5 separate regions of the Homo sapiens genome follow, and all the other regions are linked to region 5. Evidence: promoter capture Hi-C in 16 types of primary human blood cells and fetal thymus (Javierre and others, 2016). All regions are on one chromosome and are shown on one strand. The core of a region is centred on a gene start or on the middle of the fragment in contact, and the rest is flanking DNA. Distances in the headings are between cores, read along the strand shown.

Region 1 (2,700 bases), core at 15-2,514, 2.7 Mb before region 5:
GACACAGCCCCAGTTATAGACTTTCCCCCAACAGAAGGAACAACAACAACAAAAAACTACCTAACTACTGGTTACAGGTTAAAGCTGGAAATGTGCTGGCAACAGATTTAGGTTTTTCCAATATTATTTTGCCTGTTCATCTTCTTTTTTCTCTATTATCTTTTTTTTTTCTTTTTTTGAGACAGAGTCTCACTCTGTTGCCCAGGCTAGAGTGCAGTGGCGTGATCTCGGCTCACTGCAACCTCCGCCCCCCAAGTTCAAACGATTCTCCTGCCTCAGTTTCCCAAGTAGCTGGGATTACAGGTGCACACCACCAAGCCTGACTAATTTTTGTAATTTTTAGTAGAGATTGGTTTTCGCTATGTTGGCCAGGCTGGTCTCAAACTCCTGACCTCAGGGTGATCTGCTCACCTCAGATTCCCAAAGTGCTGGAATTACAGGCATGAGCCACCGCGCTTGGCCCTATTATCTTTAATAAAAACAAAGATAGGGAAATTATCCAAAAAATTAGCTAAAAGCTATATAACTTTAAAATATGTGAAATTAATAATTTCAATAAAGTACTTAATATACCACAAAACAAATGTTTTCACTTATCAGCTTTTCAGATTAAGTATCAAAATTCTATTCAAGTAACATGAGAAGGTACAGCAATATGTGAAGACCCATTATAGAATTAAGAGAGGAGAAGAGGAAGAACAAGGGTAAAGAAGGGCCCAGAAAGATAAAAAGACAGAGGGTAAGACCTCCTTATAGCTATGCATACAGTACCTTCTGTAGACACACACTCTCTACTGCAACCTCAAAGAAAGTGCAGGCAGGAAAAGAAATCTGCAGAAGAAAGAAAATGAGAATGTTTGTCTTCATGATGTAACATTATTCTTTGGGTGTCCTGATGAGCTATTGTTCCTCAAGGTTTTTAAAGCTTTATTGAGTTTTCAGAACTTTAAGCACCATTGGTAATACCAATTGGCACTTGTCCAATGAGCTGAGTGAAACTGATCCAAAAGCTCCAGAAGCTGCCACATTCCAGGTATGGAGTATTTGGGGGCTGTAATTATACCATTGTAATTACTGTCTTTAATAGGATTAAAAATAGAACTGGAATAATTCTATGGTAAGTTGATGTCACTTATTGTGACCCAAGTTTCAATTATAATTGTTAACGATGCTATTGCTGAGTCCTTGTTTGGCTTGACTGCCATGCAGTGTTTTTCTGATGAGTGAAGGAGTTAACACCTTTTGGACAATTTTCAGAATTGAAAGAAAATTACTTGGTTTTTAGTAGGGTTTGTAATTATTATATCCAAGGTTGGTATCTTCTAGAGGGGAACTTTTTAGAAAATTAATATTAGACTCTCTCCCAGTCTATTGAAAGGCCGTATTAAATCTCTATCATATACTCTTCAATGCTGTGATCATGATTATATTCAAACGATAACCCACATTCTTCCTCTTTGTGGTCATTTGGGACACAGGTGGCAGTCTCACATATGATAAGGAATTTGAATGTTAGCATAAACCATTTTAGTGGCAAAAAACACACAAATGCTTTATATAAAAAAAGAGTCAATTTTAAGGGTATCAAATTTGTCTATGAAGTTAAGCTTTAGGTTTACTGGCAGATGCAGATGTAGTGACTGTATAATAGATTCATGCCTTAGTTTCTAAACTTACAAAATCTGTTTGCTTAGTTTAGTGTCAGATTGTCAGTCTGCTTTATTGATTCCATCAGTGGTTTGGCTTATCATATCAGAAATTTGAGTGCTGACTTCTGGCCTCAAGCGATCCTCTGGCCTCAGCCTCCCAACGTGCTTAGATTACGGGTGTGGGCTATGATGCCCAACCCTAACATTTCTATCTTATGAAATAGTTGACAGGTAGATATAATTTGTTACTGGAGAAGATTATTTTTTCATTTTGTTCTTTTAAGATCCAATTGTTATTTTCTGAGTTTATTAACATAGCTAGCCTTATAATGAGAACACAGCTCTCACTTTTACCATTTTGCTTAAAGATTTGCAGATGTGTCGTGCTCATATACTTCAATGTCTCTGTGTTTTCTCAGGATGTTACAGTTCTGCTTCTTTTATTTCCTAAAATTCAATAATTTTATCTGTGTTAAAAAGTATTTTAAAATGTAATGAACACAATGTTGTGGCTACTCATAATAGTTTTAGTGAATCAGGAAGTATGCCAGGGGATGGTTGTTAGTAGAAAAACCATTTCATGTCATCTTCAGTAAAAGATAAAGAAGTGAGCTTGAATTCAGAGAGCTTGGTATATAGGATGACTGACAGAGATAGGAGCTGGGGCAGGAATAAAAAGATTGAGAAGATTGAACATTAAACAGAACTTCAGTCATTAGCCAATGTAAACAAGCAATCAAAGAATAGTCCCCTTAAAATAGGAATCATTTAATTCATCTAACAATTAAGAAAATATAAACATTACAAACCAATGTTTTTGTTAATCTGGTTCTAATTATTTTTAGGTTACTGATGATATTCTTTTAGTATAAAAATATAAAATCAGAGCCATTTGCCTAGTTTTCATGTCATTTTTCTTCATATTTTCAGAAATCATTGTCTTACTTGAAAGTTTTCTACTTAAGATTCCACAATTAAAAGAACAATGTTTCCTTTAAGGAATAGTGCTGCGGGGGCAGGGGCAGAATTTCTTAAAGCATTTTGGGGAGTG
Region 2 (2,700 bases), core at 189-2,688, 2.6 Mb before region 5:
ACATGAAAACAAATATAATTCTTATAGCAGTCTAATACCTATTATTTTGAGGTATCATATTTAGACATTAATTTTTACATTTAACACCAAAGTGCTATACTATCAATGCATTTTAGTAATTTCATTGAATCCAGTAAGAATTGCAATCTCACATTCCATTCCATTTGTTTTTAAGATCACATAGGCACATTAATGTCCAATGATTTTCTCCTTGCCATCATCATTGTATATTTTTTACTTTGGCAGAACTAATATTGCAGTTTTATGACTTAAACATTTCATAAAGTTTTCTTTGTTACAGTATGAGGAACATTAAACTGTCTCAAATCTGTTTTTAATTCACCAATGATTCTATGGGATTTTTCTAATACTGAACATTCCACTTCATAGATTTTCTGTATTTCTCCATTGTTGGAGAAATACATATCATTGCATTGATGTTAATGCAAGCAGCTTGACTCGTTATATGCTGACATGTAATGAAACAATAAACTTCTCCAAGAAGTCCTACAAAGGCAAGTAAATCTGAATCTCTCACCTCTGCTCTACTTTTAGTGAGGGTGTGCCTTCCTTTGTTGGTACTAAGACAGGAAGTGTCTGTTTTTATGTGATTTGCTGAAATCAAACAAGAGGAAGGTGAACTCTTACTGGAAACCTGTTAGAATCCAAGCCCACAGAGGAACTTCAACAATTTCAGCAACATCTTGACAACTTTTTATATATGTGCTTGTTTTGTAAGTGATGCTATGATATAAACAATAATACAAAGTCAAGCTTCTGAAAAAATTTTAAGTTTAGTTTTACCAAACTTAATGGTATTTTCTTTTTTCCAAATAAAGACACATTATTATATGTTCTACTGATATTTATCTCAAGTCAGCATTCTTCTTAGATGTAATGTTTAATTAAAAATCTATAGTAGTTTCTACAATGACTAGCTAAATATTTTGCCTAAAATATACAAGTGGCTGGGTGCTGTTGCTCATGCCTATAATCCCAGCTACTTGGGAGGCTGAGGTGAGAGGATCACTTGAGGCCAGGAGTTAAAAGACCAGCTTTGGTGACATAAAGAGAATCTGTCTCAAAACAAAAACAAAAACACCCTGTGGAATTTCAACTATTAATACTATTATTATACATTAACATTCTATGTGCTTTCTGAAATGCTTTGTGCCTTCTCAAAATCTCCAAAATTCCTCATTCTAGATAGAAATAGAATGCCAGAAAGTCGTTTATGTAAAAATTGTTTAATATTTACTAACTTATTACAGAGAGTTTGCATTTTCATTTTACCTACATGAGCATTTAGCATTAAGACCATAGTGGGCCAAATTTGGCTTTTGTTTTTGAAGGTTCACTTGAGTAGCGTAATCACAACATGGTCATCTCGGCCTTGCCATAGCATCTCTCCTTCAAAGTCTACCAGTCCATGTTTCCTGGCACGCATGAGAATGCCCACTACTTTATCTGAAATACGAACGTATCTGTCAAAGAGATCTCCAAAAGTAACCTGGATCTTGCCATCTCGTCTGTGGCGAGCCATTGTGCAGATAATGAAGCACATGTCCATCATTTCCCTGTAGATGTGCTCCTCAGCACGCTTGGCCCTTTCAGCAGTTTTGGTTCCTTCTTTGGGGCGGCCATAGCCCTCATCTCCTTTGTGTAGGCGGGTGGACATGGCCAGCTCGTAATCAAACTCTTCACTGAAAGGATTGAGCTTCTGGGATTGTATGTGTTCATCAGCCCACTGCTGCCATCTCCCTTTCAAGTTGCCCACTGGGCTATATTTCTGTTGGGCTTTGCAGTTGAGTTTCTCTGTAAATCTGTTTACCCTAAAGTAGAGAGAGGGTGAACAATCAAGATTCAGATATGTTAACACCGAGTGTTGTTTTCCCTTTGTACTTCCCACACATATGCATCTTTAATGTAAGTATAATTTTTTCACTACAAAAATAAACACAATATAAAAAATTAGAAATGAAAGAAGAAAAATCATACATAGTCCCACCGTTGTTCTTAGTTTGGTGCATATCCTTCTAGATTGTTTTCTCTATGAATAACGATTTTAAGCATTATAATGATATTAAAATCTATTTTAAGAAAAAAGCTTCCCCACACAAAGTTAATGCAAATGTGTATATCTTTAAGTTGAGTATTGGTAACATTTTAGAACTGAAATCATGTAGGTGTTTTCAGGAATCTAGTTCTTAGAGGACCTCTGAAACCAATTATTTCCCAAAGGTAAGGACTCTACCACTACACATGCAGTTTAATATTTAATCATATATAGATTTTTATATGTGGATTTTTCAGTGAGAGCATATATAGACTAGTATCAATGATGCCACAAACTTCGAAATATGAAGTTGTACAGATAGAAAACACTAGCTAGCAATAGTAACATTTACTGAACACTATGTACTGGCATTCTTCTAAATGCTTTATTAATATTCCCCACAACCATTTCCTGAGATAGGTACTACTATTCCTACTTCACAAATGAGGAAACTGAGGCCAGAGAGATGAAGTAACTTCTTAAAGTCACAAAACTGTTAAGTGGTAGAACTAGACTTTGAACCAAAGTTAAGCTGGCTCCAGAGCCTGTCTATAACTGTGAAATACTGCCCTAAATAGGTGACGTTGCAGGATTCAAACGCAAGACTGCCTTAGACCAAGGTCAATGCTCTTTCTACTATGTAG
Region 3 (2,700 bases), core at 178-2,677, 2.6 Mb before region 5:
CCCGTCTCTACTAAAAATACAAAAAATTAGCCGGGCGCGGTGGTGGGTGCCTGTAGTCCCAGCTACTCGGGAGGCTGAGGCAGGAGAATGGCGTGAACCCGGGAAGCGGAGCTTGCAGTGAGCCGAGATTGCGCCACTGCAGTCCGCAGTCCGGCCTGGGCGACAGAGCGAGACTCCGTCTCAAAAAAAAAAAAAAAAAAAAAAAAAAAAAAATACACACTGGATTTTAATGACTTAGAATGGAAAGAAAAAAGAATGTAAACATCTTGTTTGTTTATACTGATTAATATTGAAGTGATAATATTTTGAATACATTAGGTTAAATAAACTATATTAATACAATTAATTTCACTTTTTTAATGTGGTGTCTAGAAAATTTACAATTGTAATGTATCTTACATTATATTGCTCTTGTGCAGTGCAGGTCTATGCCTCATGGATACTAAGTGCCTAAAAAAATGTTTGTTAAACTAGGGAGGCCGAGGGTAACAAATAAAAAATGTTAAACTAGGGTGGATCACGAGGTCAGGAGTTTGAGACCAGCCTGGCCAATATGGTAAAACCCTGTCTCTACTAAAAATACAAAAATTAGCTGGACGTGGTAGCACACGCCTGTAGTCCCAGTTGCTCGGGAGGCTGAGGCAGGAGAATCACTTGAACCTGGGAGGCGGAGATTGCAGTGAGCCAAGATCACACCACTGCACTCCAGCCTGGGCAACAGAGTGAGACTCCATCTCAAAAAAAATAAATAAATAAAATAAAAATGTTTGTTAAACTAATGAGTACTCATTTAAGTGAAAGAGTAATTTTAAATGTTAACATGATTTATTTTAAAACAGGAAGAATTTGGCTAAAGCCCTTATATAAAACAGTAGTACTTCAGAATGTGCCGTGATGTTTTTTATTTTTTTGTTCTACAAAGGAATGGAGAATAGGTGTCCTAGAATTTAGGATGAACTTGTTATGGCTACCAACTTGGGCATCAGTTAGATTTAAACTAACACCTCTACTCACTGTTATTCTGCTTTAGTGATACTTAAAAAAGATCTTTATTATCCCTGACTGTTACTCAAGCAGAAATATATTGCTAGCCAGAAATGTATACATTGACTGGGGAAGTTTGTATATGATAAATTTGGTAAACTTATTGTTTGCTTTTTTCTCCCTTTCCCTATGTAAGTGTCATAAGGCAGGGATTTGTCAATTTCATACACTATTATATCTTCAGAACTAAGAATTGTATAGGCATATAGTTCATTCTCAATATTTATTAATGGATAAACTTGGGCGTAGATTAAAATTAAGGTATAAAGCTTCTAATCTTTCAAGATTGCTCTATTTCCTGAAATAAGTTCTTACATCAGTTGTAGTAAATATTTTCATAAAGCCATAGATTCTGGACATTTTAACTAATAGTCCACAGTCTGTCATTTACATTTTTTTTTGTTCTGTTTAAACATATTCAGTGAAAGGGAATTTGTTACCTCAAAGGGCAATACTTTACATTTTAGGACAGCTCTGTTAGAAAGTTATTTGTTACAATAAGCTTAAGGAAACATATCTTTGTAAATTGGATTCATTTATCTTTATTCTGTCTTCCAATGCAAGTCAATAACAACAAGAAACATTTTCTATTTACTGCGATAGTGTGAAAATGTTTGTCTTCCCTTTTAATCTTGTTTCAGAATTATTTTTTCCAGTACTTCAACTGTTTAACTTTATGAACTCTATTCAGATCTTATTCATATCAGTACCCTAAAATATGTTAAAAGAGTTCATAAACTATGGCACCCCAAATTACTAAAATGTACACTTGGGATAGCAGGAAAAATTCCGTAATATTTTTAAAAATTTTAATTTCCAAATATGAACATTGAAGACCAGTCCTATTGAAGACAGACAGAAACATATATTTACTAAGAAAAAGAAAATTTAGCCAAATTTTAAGGTGGTCAGGAGTAAAAGTTCCTAATGATAAATCAGTTCCTAAGTATTTGGATAAAGGATCTGAGAAATACTATTCTTACTGCTCACGATGTGTAAAGGACTGAATTTCCTCTTTTTGTAGTGTTACTTTGTATGCCACATGATAAAGAGTACTTTGGTGTGGGTCGGGCGTGGTGGCTCACGCCTGTAATCCCAGCACTTTGGGAGGCCGAGACAGGTGGATCACGAGGTCAGGAGATCGAGACCATCCTGGCTAACATGGTGAAACCCCGTCTCTACTAAAAATACAAAAAATTAGCCGGGCGTGGTGGCGGGCGCTTCTTGTTGTAGCTACTCGGGAGGCTGAGGCAGGAGAATGGCGTGAACCTGGGAGGTGGAGCGTGCAGTGAGCCAAGATCATGCCACTGCACTGCAGCCTGGGCGACAGAGCGAGACTCCACCTCAAAAAAAAAAAAAAGGAGCTATGCCTGAATTAATTGCGTCAACATGGCTGCTATTGATAAGAAAGCATGTTTTTAAACAATCAAGGCACAAAATGATTAAGGAAACCTTTCTTCATAGTGAACCAAACTTATGTTTTTGGTGTGATACCCAAATAAAAGAAATATGCATTATGAGTCTTGCTTTTGGGGATCTGATAACCTTATTTGATAACTGAGAAGGAACTACTTATTACAGTCTTTCCCCTGATTTCTGCCGGTATTCAACACAGGAAGTCAATAAGTATATCCAGTGTTGTGAGGATACTGTTTG
Region 4 (2,700 bases), core at 33-2,532, 2.7 Mb before region 5:
TTTACATTTTAAACTATAGATTTTAGATAGTTACGACTCTCTGTTTTGGATTTTTTTGAGAGTACTACTCAATAGAATTTTTTGAGGTGATGAAAATGGTCTGTATCTGTGATGGCCAGTATGGTAGCCACTAGGCAAATATGGCTATTGAGTATCTGAATTGCAGCTAATGCAAATGAGGAACTGGATTGAGAAAATTGGATTCAGGATTCTGTATTTGCTCTATCTAATATGGTAGCAACTAGTGTTAAAGGAAAAATTATTTGATAATACTTCCTAAAGCACAATAAGACAGACTTTATTCAGGACCATTGCAATAGGGATAGGGACTGTGGCAATGAGATTTTGTAGTTGAGGAGAGAGATTGGGCTCAACTCCAAATACAAAATGGGCAAGTGGGAATTTCTAGCCAAGGAGTAGAGTAAGGATAGATGGATGGACAATTGCTAAGAGGTAACGTCAGGAATAAGGGGTATTATGGTGAAACTGACCTACCAGGATTCTTGCTGAAGGCAGGCCAGAGTAATCAGACTTCACCTGGACAGTGGAGGATGAGAAAACTGATCAGATACGGAAGGTAATCAGATATCCAGGATCGGGGTGGGGGTTCCTGCTACACTGACCTTAACATGATTCTTGCTGAAACTCGGTTTTATAAGGAAGTGAACAGATTGGCATAGGAGAAGGTTCAGCAGCCTGACTAAAATTTGGCTATGCAAATAATCTTTGTGACTAGGCACATGTAGCTATTTTAATGTAAATTAATTTAATTAAGTAAAACTTTAAATTCAGTTTTCAGTCTCACTAGAGACATTTCAAGTACTCACAAGACAGATGGCTAGTGGCTACCATATTATACAAGGCAGATATAAAACATTTTTACCATTGCAGAAAGTTTTATTGGGCAGCATTGATAGCAATGAGTCCCAATGCAGGGTACACATTAGAATTCCCTGGGTAGCCATGAAAAAATTTTGATGCCAAGATCTGATTATAATCAAAGATTTGATCTTGAAATCTCTGTTTAAGATCTCCACTTACAGTTTCTTACGGAATTCTAATATGTAACTAGGGTTAAAAACCACTGACTTAGGATGTGAAGGACTCTACATCATTCTGTTTTCCTTAATGATATTTCTCTCAATCAAACTCTTGCTGAATTTAGCAGGTTATTATTTATTTATTTTTCTTTACAAGTACTTGGGGCATGCACCTATTTTATGATGCAAGTTAATAAAAGAAATGCATGTTTAAGTTTTCTGCCAACCTCTGGATAGTATTGAGACCTTAGGAAAGTTGAGGTGACTTACAATGAAAAGTTCCTAAAAGGAAGACATGTTTGTATGCTGAGAGAAAGATGCTGAAGATAAAATGACTGTGTGGCAAGGTCCTTGTGGAATAAATAAACTACTGGAATTATGATCATTCTTTTTTCACATGCCACAATTAAGAGCCATTAATATTGTGGAATATTTGCTTCCAGTCTTTTATACGAAATTAATTTTTAAAATAAACCTGATATATACTATATATAAATAAGTCATATGTTGCAAATACTGAACTTTAAAAATCACCTCTAATCCAGTCACCCAGAGATACTGTTAATATTTGGGTAGGCATTACTGCCAAGTAATGTACATCACTTCTATGTGTATGTACATATAGAAGGATGGATGGGTGGTTAGAAGGAGGGAGTGACAGAATGAAAGATAATACTTATTCACCACAAGAGGTTAATTCCTAAGGGGTGTGTCTAAATTTAAGCAAATTCTAAAAAAAAAAAAAAGAAAAAAAATTACAGATACTGTTATTACAATCTTGTTTCAGTTTTAGGTGGGATATATTTAACCATGCTTTGGTATGACATTAGCAGTTTCATTTCTCATTTTTCTCCTCCTCACATCCTAATATTTACTCATTTTACTATTTTTACATTGTCCATGTTTGTAACATTCATACTTAGTTTTTCAACCACTTTTTTATAACTTATTATTGTTCTATATTCTCTAGTAACCTTTTAGAATGTCCTCCTTGATTCTGGAGTTTTTGATACAATTGGCATAATTTCAGTCTTATAGCACTGAGTAATGTTTCAGTAGAGAAGTCTCATGCAAGCCAGCCAGATTCTTTTCCATTTCCCCTAGTAGATGATTTGCTTTTTATGCATGAATTGTTGAATAATTTTTTAAGCTCCCAAGCATAATAATTTAACTAAGAGTAGAAATGGGAATAGCCTGACTCATGTGCCCACATGTGTCTATGTGGAATAATCTTTTAGGAATTACACCTTTCTTCTGGAATACATGTTGATGGAGCAGCCACTATATGGAAGATCTCTGGTTTTGAGATAGAAAAGAGAGCTAAGAAGTACAATTTTGGCTCCAAACACTTCCACCTGGAAGACATATATGGTTCATTGGGCAAAGCAAGTTGGCCATGTCTGACATCAATAGGATGGTGAGGTATATTTTATATTCCTCAACAGGAAGGAATACAGGCTTAGTAACAATAATATAGTCTATCACCATGACTAATTTAGAAACCATTATATTAGTTTGACAGATTTGAAAACTGCTGGTGTTAACTGTCACAAATATGAAGTTATGTAGGGAAGCCCATTTCTTCTGTCACTTACGCAGTCTGCAGGTCTTTGATCTCTTCAGAAGCTCTATTTGTATGTCTCTCAAATGTGTTGTGCGT
Region 5 (2,700 bases), core at 36-2,535:
AATCAAGCTTATCCTCTCTCATCCTAGTCAACTCTTAACCTACCCTTCAAAGCTCAACTTAGATATTAACTCCTCCAAGACGCCTTCCCAGATCCCCAGACTAGTTTAGGAAAGATATTCAAGTACTACCATTGTATTTTGTACATATCCCTATCACTGCCTTCCCATATTGTTTTACAATTATCTGTTTACAATTTTCTTCCTAACTAGCTAATAGTCCTCTTTTGTTACGGAAGGTGTCTTGTTCATTTTGATATTATCAGGACGTAACACAAAACAGGTACTCGGTAAATATTTCTGAATTTAATAAATCAATTAGCATAAACTTATTTTATACTTTAATGTCTGTTATTATAATTAACTGTAGATCACTATTTCTCAAAGTGTGATCTCTGAAAACATGCATCAGAATCAGCAGGGGTGTGAATTTTAAAATGCAGATCTCTGGGCTCTATCATAACGAAAATGCCGTTAAGTTGTAAAAACAAGAGTAAGGATATTCTACCAGCTACAGATAAAGCAAGGAGTAGCAGTGTGGGAGTAAATCCACTTTTCCTCACTATCTTCTAGAGATGTTCTCTACCAGAGTTCTTAATGTGCCAGGAACTGAGTAATTAAAAATGCTATGACTGGAATGTAGTTTCTCTTCTAAGAAACGGCTCTCGGTCAGAGGAAACAGGAACTGGGGGTCCTCCAAGGAGGTGTGGTTTCTCAACGCACACGTTCACAAGCGATGCTCCAGGAGGAAGGAATGTTCTCAGCGTCCCCCGAAACAGAAGCCAGGCTGTGGACACACAGCAGCCAGAGCCCCAGGCACTACCCGCACGCCAGCCCTCAGACCTCAGACCTCAGAGGCTGGGCTGCTGACGGAGGGGGCCCAGGGTCCCGTTACCGAAGAGCGCGCGAAGGCGGCTCCCACCGGGTTCTGGGATGGGCATCATTCCCCAGAAGCAGCGGCCTCCGTGAGTCCACGCAAGCCGCCACGGTGGCTTCGCTTGCCAGTCAGAAAGAAAGAAATTGCGGGAAGGGTCAGGCCGGAGGCAGCCGAAAGGGGAAAGGAACGGAGTACGAAGGGCGCCGCCGCTTCCCACCTGCGTCAAGCTCCAGCTGGTAACAAGGCAGCGGCTCAAGAGAGAGCTTGTAACCCTCGAAGCGGGGATCCAACAGAGGTCTCTTCACCCGTAGGGAGCAATTAGCCGCCACCTCCATCGCTTTCCAGGGCCGCAGCGTGAGAATTAATAAAGCCCTTGTTGAAAGGTCCGCGCTTCACGCCTCGCACAGAGACTGGGAAGCGGCGTGGTTCCCATCCCAGAAAACACTGCGGTGCGAACTGCCTTCTGGGAAATGTAGTGTCCGTGAAAAAGTTGAGACTGTTGCATGCTGGGCTATGTAGTTCTCCTGGTACTTAACGCGCGCGCGACGGCAAGGTCTGAACTCTGTTACCCAGAGGCCCTAGCAACCAGGAGGCGGCCCGCGCTGGTTAAATTCTCACATTATAGGCAGGGTGGCGAGACCCCGCCCCGGAAATGCGTGTTCTAGCTTTCTGTGTGCTTAGGTGCCCGAGCTACTGAGGGTCTAAGTCCGGGCAGCCGAAGAGTGTGGTAGGTAACGGTCCTCAGCGCAAGGGTCATTTCGTCGCTGGGAAGGGACGGCCCTCGCCCGCGGTGATGGTGGTGAGCTATGCCCGTGGTCCTCAGGGCCGGGACCCGGGCCCAGCCCAGGCTCCTTTCGATGTACTGTCTTTCGTTAGCGTCCCCGACCCGCGCTCGCGGGCCTGTAGGGCTCTCCGACAGGGCGTGCTACCGGAGTTGGCCTGAAACCAGTCCTCGCTTTGTTTTCTGGCTCCTCCTCTCCCGCCTCTCCCGCTGTCTCCGCCCTGTTCTATTTTCCCTAAGAATGTCTGAACTGGGAGGGATACCCTAGCGCCCTTGTTTTACCAGTGAGAAAACTGAGGCCTTTAAGAATTAAGTGACTTGTCCAAGGTCACTATCCGTATTTTAGGAGCCAAGACGAGATCAAGTTCAATATTCCAGGAGTGGTACTGACTAGACCTTGTAGTTATTTTGAAAATGTTAGCCTCCAATTACAAAAGCAAGCATTTCCTAGTTCTCACTCAACTTCTCCTTTTCCCTGTTCCTCTCAAAAAAGAAAAAAAAAATCAACTCTGGTAACTCATTGCCAGTCTGAATTTTCAATAGGCCAGATGGAAGACAACAAAAGTAATCTCAAGTTAGTGACAGATTAGGTGGGAAAACGTTAGTTTACGCCAAGTTTTATTTAATTTAAACTTTTAAGTGGCTTTAACGCTTTCAAAACCTAACTTTCCTCTTCTTTCAACATCATTTTGGTTTGGGTTGTCTGTTTTTACTGACAATTGAGGACTTTGTAAGTTAGGAATTAGTTTGAGATTTGTTTTCTTCTTATCCCACCAGCAGTGTGTGTGTAAACACACACATCCACACACTTAGGTTTAGCAGTTGTAATTGTGGGTTCATCCTAGTGAAGAGTAAAGCAAAACACTTAGAGCCTTATCTAGTAATTTTATTTTTTTTGATTAATTAATTTTTTTTTTTTTTTTTGAGACAGAGTCTTGCCCTGTCACCCAGGCTGGAGTGCAGCAGCGCAATGTCGGCTCACTGCAACCTCTGTCTCCTGGGTTCAAGCGATTCTCCTGCCTCAGCCTCCTGAGTAGCTGGGATT

The links. Contacts are between HindIII fragments. The CHiCAGO score rates a contact against its expected background, and 5 or more counts as called.
Region 1: a contact is called between a fragment that was not itself captured here and the fragment with the promoter of NUDCD1 in region 5, in 1 of 17 cell types (activated CD4 T cells). The highest score is 7.9, in activated CD4 T cells.
Region 2: a fragment that was not itself captured here is called in contact with the fragment with the promoter of NUDCD1 in region 5 in 1 of 17 cell types (total CD4 T cells); the score reaches 5.4 in total CD4 T cells.
Region 3: a fragment that was not itself captured here is called in contact with the fragment with the promoter of NUDCD1 in region 5 in 1 of 17 cell types (non-activated CD4 T cells); the score reaches 5.5 in non-activated CD4 T cells.
Region 4: a fragment that was not itself captured here is called in contact with the fragment with the promoter of NUDCD1 in region 5 in 2 of 17 cell types (total CD8 T cells and non-activated CD4 T cells); the score reaches 9.3 in total CD8 T cells.

The regions. Positions count from the first base shown.
Region 1 is chr8:106,645,946-106,648,645 of GRCh38, forward strand. All of the region lies in intron 3 of OXR1 (oxidation resistance 1), which reads left to right. The region is part of intron 1 of OXR1-AS1 (OXR1 antisense RNA 1); the gene reads right to left. Among named protein-coding and RNA genes, the nearest start is that of OXR1-AS1, 10 kb to the right of the region's middle. The HindIII fragment of the contact is 682 bases long and covers 924-1,605 here.
Region 2 is chr8:106,759,683-106,762,382 of GRCh38, forward strand. ABRA (actin binding Rho activating protein) reads right to left here. Exons shown (of 2, transcript NM_139166.5): 2 at 1-1,832. The coding sequence ends at 1,355. Among named protein-coding and RNA genes, the nearest start is that of ABRA, 9.2 kb to the right of the region's middle. The HindIII fragment of the contact is 1,333 bases long and covers 773-2,105 here.
Region 3 is chr8:106,716,449-106,719,148 of GRCh38, forward strand. All of the region lies in intron 11 of OXR1 (oxidation resistance 1), which reads left to right. Among named protein-coding and RNA genes, the nearest start is that of ABRA, 52 kb to the right of the region's middle. The HindIII fragment of the contact is 233 bases long and covers 1,312-1,544 here.
Region 4 is chr8:106,666,195-106,668,894 of GRCh38, forward strand. The region is part of intron 3 of OXR1 (oxidation resistance 1); the gene reads left to right. Among named protein-coding and RNA genes, the nearest start is that of OXR1-AS1, 9.8 kb to the left of the region's middle. The HindIII fragment of the contact is 2,952 bases long and covers 1-2,700 here.
Region 5 is chr8:109,332,802-109,335,501 of GRCh38, forward strand. It overlaps NUDCD1 (NudC domain containing 1), which reads right to left and starts at 1,286. Exons shown (of 10, transcript NM_032869.4): 1 at 1,092-1,286. The coding sequence starts at 1,209. ENY2 (ENY2 transcription and export complex 2 subunit) reads left to right here and starts at 1,546. Exons shown (of 5, transcript NM_020189.6): 1 at 1,546-1,673. The coding sequence starts at 1,668. RefSeq lists enhancers at 978-1,027, 1,158-1,207, 1,390-2,312, 1,578-1,827. The HindIII fragment of the contact is 6,990 bases long and covers 6-2,700 here.